Linked DNA regions of Homo sapiens: regions 2 and 3 are each linked to region 1. The links are contacts of gene promoters, found by promoter capture Hi-C in blood cells and fetal thymus (Javierre and others, 2016). All regions are on one chromosome and are shown on one strand. Each heading gives the region's core, a stretch centred on a gene start or on the middle of the fragment in contact. The rest is flanking DNA. Distances are from core to core; before and after follow the strand shown.

The links. Contacts are between HindIII fragments. The CHiCAGO score rates a contact against its expected background, and 5 or more counts as called.
Region 2: a contact is called between a fragment that was not itself captured here and the fragment with the promoter of TERF2 in region 1, in 1 of 17 cell types (neutrophils). The highest score is 5.1, in neutrophils.
Region 3: a fragment that was not itself captured here is called in contact with the fragment with the promoter of TERF2 in region 1 in 1 of 17 cell types (activated CD4 T cells); the score reaches 5.6 in activated CD4 T cells.

The regions. Positions count from the first base shown.
Region 1 is chr16:69,384,707-69,387,342 of GRCh38, reverse strand. It overlaps TERF2 (telomeric repeat binding factor 2), which reads left to right and starts at 1,336. Exons shown (of 10, transcript NM_005652.5): 1 at 1,336-1,750; 2 at 1,857-1,952; 3 at 2,633-2,636. The coding sequence starts at 1,372. RefSeq lists a silencer at 1,341-1,720. The HindIII fragment of the contact is 13,848 bases long and covers 1-2,636 here.
Region 2 is chr16:69,772,359-69,774,994 of GRCh38, reverse strand. All of the region lies in intron 1 of WWP2 (WW domain containing E3 ubiquitin protein ligase 2), which reads right to left. Among named protein-coding and RNA genes, the nearest start is that of WWP2, 11 kb to the right of the region's middle. RefSeq lists an enhancer at 1,512-1,711. The HindIII fragment of the contact is 6,611 bases long and covers 1-2,636 here.
Region 3 is chr16:69,649,221-69,651,856 of GRCh38, reverse strand. All of the region lies in intron 4 of NFAT5 (nuclear factor of activated T cells 5), which reads right to left. Among named protein-coding and RNA genes, the nearest start is that of SNORD13H, 58 kb to the left of the region's middle. The HindIII fragment of the contact is 1,162 bases long and covers 719-1,880 here.

The sequences.
Region 1 (2,636 bases), core at 87-2,586:
AAAATTAGCTGGGCATGGTAGTGGGCGCCTGTAGTCCCAGCCACTCGGGAGGCTGAGGCAGGAGAATGGCATGAACCCAGAGGCGGAGCTTGCAGTGAGCCGAGATCGTGCCACTGCACTCCAGCTTGGGCGACAGAACGAGATTCCATCTCAAGAAAAACAAAGAAAAAAAAGAAAAGCAGCTATGATCACCAAAGATCAGTCAGACCTAGAGGCCTCTTCTCTCATCCCGGAACGTGTACCTCATAGAACTTTTGGCTTTCCAGGATACTATACATATTAAGGTCCTGATATTAATTCACAGGTCCAGCATGGGATTCACATCCTCAAGGACATGGCCACCTGCACTTCTGAGTTGTCTTTGAGTGGCCCCAAACTGGATCTTTGCAGGTTCCAGACTAGTGGGGCTGGTAGGACAATCTTTGAAGCTAGACCAGTTACTGGGCCTCTCAGGAAGAGGCACCCACAACCACCATCCTGAACTAAGGTCTGAGCTGGAGGTTCTCCATTTGGTCAAGTGCCAGTTGGTGAATTCCAAGAGTATCAGAGATATCTGAAAGTGACTCAGACCCTCTATGGGACTATGGGTGGTCCTTTTGCTTATTTTTCTAATTGTTCTACAACAAAATGTGTTATTTTTGTGATTACAAAGAGTATATGTCTAGCGGCTGGGTTGCCAGGTGCATTCTATTTATTGGTATCACACTGGTCTTTGCTTTATAATTACAGTATTTGTTAAAATACAAATTTGTTTAAAGACTTTCCTCTGTGTATGCTCTCTTCCACAATTTTCAAAGTGTTTAATAAGGTGCACATATTTGGTTTTCTTTTTTTTCTTTTCTTTTTTTTGAGACGGAGTTTCGCTCTTGTTGCCCAGACTGGAGTGCAATGGCGCGATCTCGGCTCACCGCAACCTCCGCCTCGCGGGTTCAAGCGAGTCTCCTGCCTCAGCCTCCTGAGTAGCTAGGATTACAGGCATGCGCCACCACGTCTGGCTAATTTTGTATTTTTAGTAGAGATGGGGTTTCTCCATGTTGGTCAGGCTGGTCTCGAACTCCCGACCTCAGGTGATCCACCCGCCTCAGCCTCCCAAAGTGCTGGGATTACAGGCGTAGAGCCACCGATCCCGGCCTGTTTTTCAGTCTCTAATACACTGTTCCGCGTCCCTAGCATAGTAGCTGTTTTCTGTAAATTCGGAGCGAAGTTGACTGCAAAACCCGCCGGGTTCACCGGCCTGGGCGGTGTGGACTTCAAGCCCCAGGAGGCATTGCGGCCGGCACATCGGGAACTACGGCGTCTGAGAAGGGGGCCGGGCCCTCCGGTCCTTTCCCTCCCAGAAGCCCGCGGGCGGCTCGGAACGCTGTTTCTATCATGGCCGCGGGAGCCGGGACGGCGGGCCCCGCTTCCGGCCCGGGCGTCGTGCGTGACCCAGCGGCGTCACAGCCGAGGAAGCGGCCCGGCCGGGAGGGCGGGGAGGGCGCGCGGCGATCGGACACGATGGCGGGAGGAGGCGGGAGTAGCGACGGCAGCGGGCGGGCAGCTGGCAGGCGGGCGTCCCGCAGTAGCGGGCGGGCCCGGCGGGGGCGCCACGAGCCGGGGCTGGGGGGCCCGGCGGAGCGCGGCGCGGGGGAGGCACGGCTGGAAGAGGCAGTCAATCGCTGGGTGCTCAAGTTCTACTTCCACGAGGCGCTGCGGGCCTTTCGGGGTAGCCGGTACGGGGACTTCAGACAGATCCGGGACATCATGCAGGGTGAGGGCCGGGCCGGGGGAGGGGGGTTGGAGCGCCGGGGAAGGGGGTCCGGGGGACCGGGAGTCGGGACTGGGGGTCGCCCAGCCAACGATGTCTTCTCTCCCAGCTTTGCTTGTCAGGCCCTTGGGGAAGGAGCACACCGTGTCCCGATTGCTGCGGGTTATGCAGTGTCTGTCGCGGATTGAAGAAGGGGAAAATTTAGGTATGGCTATTTTTGTGTTCTTCTCTGGGCTTACTTGCGTAGGGTTTTGTTTTAAAACTTATATCTAGAACTGAAGGATTCCAGGTTAAAGTGCGATAGTTTCCATCAGAGTGGTCTTTTTCATTCTACGATGGGTCTGTTTTCTGGCTCGACTGGCTCTAGTTTTCTCCGGTTAAGGTTGTCTTGGCTGCTTTTCTGTGTTTTTTTTAAATCTTCTCCCACCTGTTAATTGCTCACCCCAACTTTGCTCCTGTCTAAAGTGAGTTATGTTCATATGGACATCTTTTTTCCCCCATGGTAGAGAGTTTTTCAGAGTGGAAGTACTCTGACATTTTTCCCCTCTGAATTTAACTTGAAAGCTATTTAGCTGTTGTCAGTTTCTTGCCACTCGTATCTGAGGAGGATGGGTATATTCTGAATTTGAGAGGCAAATGCAGGTATTTAAAAATAATTTTTTTGCCTGTCTTGACAGGTGTTAAAAAATGGTCACGTTAAATTCATTGATTTGAATTTGGACCCTTATCGTGTATGTCAACCTGTAGCAAATATGTCAAAAAATTAAATGCAAATCTTACCATATTTGCATGCTCCATTTCCATAAATATATATATATAATTTTTGGACATAACTTTTTTACCCTTAGAAAAGAGCTTAAAAATGAAAACTGTGCTTTGTCCTAGACTG
Region 2 (2,636 bases), core at 71-2,570, 390 kb before region 1:
TCTTTTCTTTTCTTTTTTTTTTTTTTTTGAGACAGTCTTGCTCTGTCACCCAGGCTGGAGTGCTGTGGCGTGATCTCAGCTCACTGCACCTCCACCTCCCAGATTCAAGTGATTCTCATGCCTCAGCCTCCTGAGTAGCTAGGGTTACAGGTACATGCCACCATGCCTGGCTAATTTTGGTATTTTTAGTAGAGATAGGATTTTACCAAGTTGTCCAGACTGGTCTTGAACTCCTAGGCTCAAGCCATCCTCCTGCCTTGGCCTCCCAAAGTGATGGGATTATAAACGTAAGCCACAGCACCTGGCCAAAATAGAAATTAAAAAGGCATGAACAGGAAGGTCTCACTGAGAAGGTGACATTTGAGCAAAGATCTGAAGAAGCTGAAGGAAGAAACTGAGAGTATCTGCAAAACATTCAGATAGATAAAAGGGTATGATGGCCAGCAGTGGTGGCTCATGCATGTAATCCCAGCACCTTAGGAGGCCAAGTCAGGTGGATCACTTGAATCCAGGAGTTCGAGACCAGCCTGAACAATAGGGCAAAACCTCGTCTCAACAAAAACCACAAAAATTAGCCATGGTGGCACATGCCTGTAGTCACAGTTACTCGGGAGGCTGAGGTGAGGTGGGAGGATCGCTTGAGCCTGGGAGGTCTAGGCTGCAGTGAGCTATGATCACGCCACTGCACTCCAGCTAGGTGACAGAGCAAGACCCTGTCTCAAAAAAAAAATGCTGTTGAGGTGACAGCATGTCTGGGGAATACAAGGAAGGAAAGAGGCCAATGTTGGGTGGAAATGTAAGATGGAAAGAATAACAATAAGATAACAGATGTAATTGAATGTGTAGAGTTAGGTTAAATTATCCTTAATGAAGGATCAAATGCCTTGGAGCAGTGGTTCTCCATCCTTTCTAGACATCTGAATTATCTGGGGAGCATTAAAAAAAAACAACACTGACCACCAAACCCTACCCTCAGAGATTCCCATTTAATTGGTCTGGGGTGGGCCAGGGACAGCTGTGTTATTTAAAAATTCCCCAAGTGATCCTAATATGAAGCTGGGTTGAGGACCACTGGTTTACTGTTAATGAATTTGTTGAAACCTCAACTAATGTGACTGCACTAAAAGGAGTGCTTTAGACCTCAGCTAATTTGGCTGAACTAAAAAAATGCAAAAAATTTGCATAGAAAATTATGCAAATGAAAAACTGGGGCAGCTGGGTGTAGTGGCTCATGCCTGTAATCCAAGCACTTTGGGAGGCTGATGTGGGCAGACTGCTTGAGCCCAGGAATTCGAGACCAGTCTAGGCAACATAGAGAAACCCCATTTCTACAAAAAATACAAAAAATTAGTCAGACATGGTGGTGCATGCCTGTAGTCCCAGCTACTCAGGAGGCTGAGGTGGGAAATCACCAGAACCCAGGAGGTCAAGGCTGCAGTGAGCTGTAATCACTCCACTGCACTCCAGCCTGAGCAACAGAGGAAGACCCTGTTTCAAAAGAAAAAAAAGAAAAGGTGGCTGGGCGTGGTGGCTCATGCCTGTAATTCTAGCACTTTGGGAGGCCGAGGTGGGTGGACCACATGAGGTCAAGAGTTCGAGATCAGCCCGGCCAACATAGTGAAACCCAATCTCTACTAAAAATAAAAAAATTATCTGGGTGTGGTAGTGAGTGCCTGTAATCTCAGCTACTTGGGAGGCTGAGGCAGGAGAATCACTTGAACCTGGGAGGCGAAGGTTGCAGTGAGCCAAGATTGTGCCATTGCACTCCAGCCTGAGCGACAGCATGAGAGTCATCTCAAAAAAAAAAAAGGAGCAACGTGTATCGGTAGGAACAGAATACAATGAAGGAGCTCCCCGTCAGGACTGTTGCTAAGGAAACAAAGTAGTAGCGACACTAGCGTCTTCCCAGAGGCCAGTTCTTCCCTTAGCCTTCCAGGAGCTCTCAATACACAGAGCAGACTACACATACATTTATCTCTGTTCCCTTCTCAAACTCCATCAAAATGACAGGAAGCAATACAAAAAGGTGAAAACCCACAGAAAGGGAAAAAAACACAACGGAAACAGCAGCAAAATTTTGGAAAATGGTTCCAGTGTGTCGAAACTGAAACTTAGCTGCCCACAAGAGAGGTCAACAGAAGGCAAGCAGACTGGCAATGAAGAATTCCAGAAAGGGTCAATCACTGGTGGTGAGGCAGGAGGGAGGACTCGACTCAGGACCAGACTGAAGACTGGCTGAAACAGGGAAGAGGCACCAAAAGCACCTCCCCACAAGACACACCCACCAGTGCCATGACAGTGTGCCAATGCCATGGTAATGCCCCAGAAGTTACCACTTTTCTAGAAATGTCTAATAGCCCACTCCTTAACTTGCATATAATTAAAACTGGGTATAAATATGACAGCAAAACTGCCCCTGAGCTGCTACTAGGGACACACTGCCTATAGCGTAGCCCTGCTCTGCAGGAGCAGTCACGGAGCTGTAACTCTGCTGCCTCAATAAAGCTGTTTTCTTCTACTACCAGCTTGCCCTTGAATTCTTTCCAGGGCAAAGCCAAGAACCTACCCAGACTAACCCCCAGTTTTGGGGCTCACGTGCCCTGCATCAGTAGTACAGGTACCTCCGAAAGTAAGGG
Region 3 (2,636 bases), core at 50-2,549, 260 kb before region 1:
CTACTAAAACTACAAAAAATTAGCCAGGAGTGGTGGCAGGCACCTGTAATCCCATCTACTCGGGAGGCTGAGGCAGGAGAATCACTTGAACCCAGGAGGTGCAGGTTGCAGTGAGCCCAGATCGTGCCATTGCACTCCAGCCTGGTCAACAAGAGCAAAACTCCGTCTCAAAAAAAAAAAAAAAATTCACGTATGTTTTTAAATAAAGTCAGGGTCATAGCTTTCTCTGTGACCCTCCTAGTCCTAAGTTTTGACTCACATCAAAGATCCAGGAGCCAGATGACTGTGAAGAAAAATCTCCTCTAAAAGCAACCAGATTCCAGTAGGAATATTACGACTTCAAACACAGAGAAGCTAAGCAGGCTTAAACCTGGCTCTAATGTTTACCCCTCCAGCTGTAACCAAGTTGTTGCCTTAATCATCAAGAACAAAGTGAGGAAAGGCACTATCTTCAATGGAAATGGGGAGTAGGTTGAATCCTTGGCTAGGAAAGAGGCAAAAGAATGGAGCAAAGAAGGAATGAAACTAGCATAGGAATTCAGTAAGACTGATAGATGAGAGGAAAAGTTCTCAAGGCGCAATACTGTGCTTAATCATCTTTATATTCCCTGAACCTGGCACACTTCCTGAAACATAACAGGTGCTGAAGAAATGTTTGTTGATGAAGGCAAAGAAGAAGAAAGGGACAAAGAAAGGAAAGCAGAGGGATAAAGAAGCTTCTGTAATATTAAGATGAGAAAGATCCTAACTGGACAAGGAATGCCATTCGTGTAAATTTGACATAAGTAAATCAAAGATTACTTGTGCAAGTCATTTAAAAGGCCCTGGAAGAATAAATTCTATGAACATAAGTATCAAGTTGAAGCTGGAACAATGGGCAGTAAACCCTGTTTTTCTTTTCATCATTCTGGGTACAGATTCAAACATTTGGTCTAACTAGTGTGCAGTTCCTCACACATGAAAGTCTATGATATTCTGTTTTATACTAATCTTAAAGTAAAAATATTCATTTATTGAAACTATGTAGAAATATCCCCCAAATATACATACAAAGAGATGAAAGAAAATACTGCAAAATGATAATAGCAGATTTACTGAGTGACTAGATTATGAGGTTTTCTTGTATTTTTCAAATATTTGTAATTCATATGTATCAATTTTATAATAGAAAAGGGAAAATTTTAGTTTGAAATACAAGGAAAATTCATAGAGCATATCGATTAACTTGGCAAGACATGTTTTTATACTCACTTATGCTAGTCAAGCTAATATTTATAAGGGCAAATAAATGAAAGTGAGTTTTACTAGTCTAGCAAAACAAATGATCTCACTTGGGATGAAGTATTGAGTGAGTATACACATTATGGCTTAAAGAAGAATATCATGTAATTAAGCAATTTCTAAAATGGTACTTTAGAAGTTCTTAAAACTATCTTTTTTTTCTAAAATGTAAAAATGGAATACATACATATTGAGATGTATAGACATGTAAAACCATGAAAACATCCACTAATGCTTAGAAACGTAGTCAAGTTACTAATTTTTAAGGCATGATGGCTTAAGAAAAAATAAAGTAGCAGTCAGTTACATGGGATTTTACTTCTAAATGACAACCAAAAAGGAAAATCCACCATCATGGCATATTCTATTCAGAAGTCTTAAAATGACATTCTAATTTATTCGTGCCGCATAATCCTTCTGGTGACCTATGTCAAAAAAATAATTTTCATTACAAAAAGCCTAAAGTAGGTTTCACATCCAGATGACATCCTATCTTAACTTATAGAAATATCTAGAAGAGACATGGGGCAACTGATTCTCAGGACATTTAGTTGAGAAATTTAAGAATGATATGGCTAGGAATATTCAAATACTAAGCTTTTTTTTTTAATGGTTTTATTCTCTTATTAGACTCTAACATCTTAGTCATATAAAAATGCTATTTTCATCTACAAGCTATCAGATTTCTATGTGGTATCTTGAAGATCAATAAACTGCTGTATACATTTTAAAGTACATTTTCTAAATACTTAGTATGATATAAATTGTAGATTTATGGCACATTAGATCTAAGGCTATATCCTTATCTCTCAAAACATTTTAAGATTTTTTTCACTGTTGAAGAATACAGGCTTTTAGCTTGACATGCTCTGAAAAATTATTTTTAAGGCCGATTTTTCTATATATTTAGGTATGGTTTCATCCTTTCCTCAATATAGTTGTTATAAATTCCAATTTTAAAATTCTTCCATCATTTCCATATACTAGTTTCAAATATTTTTTTCATTACCTAAGAAGCTGGACATTTCTTCTGCTTGATGGAATTTCTGCTCCATGAATTATTTCATGAAAGAGTCTGTCTTGACCAATGTCATTATACTTTCCCTGGGTAACCTCAAATCATTTCTAAGATATAGCTATCATACAAAAGTAGAAGCAGAAAAATGAAGGTCAAGATATTTAATTAGCAACTGCAAATCACTGTTTACTAGCCATAAGTAAAAATTCTATTTGCTCTAAATTTGAACCTTCAACATTCATTTTGATATAAAAATGAAAATTTATCTTCTGGAACTTTATATTAAAGACTTTCTCCACTAAAGCACAAATAAACACACATATGTAATTAAATGATA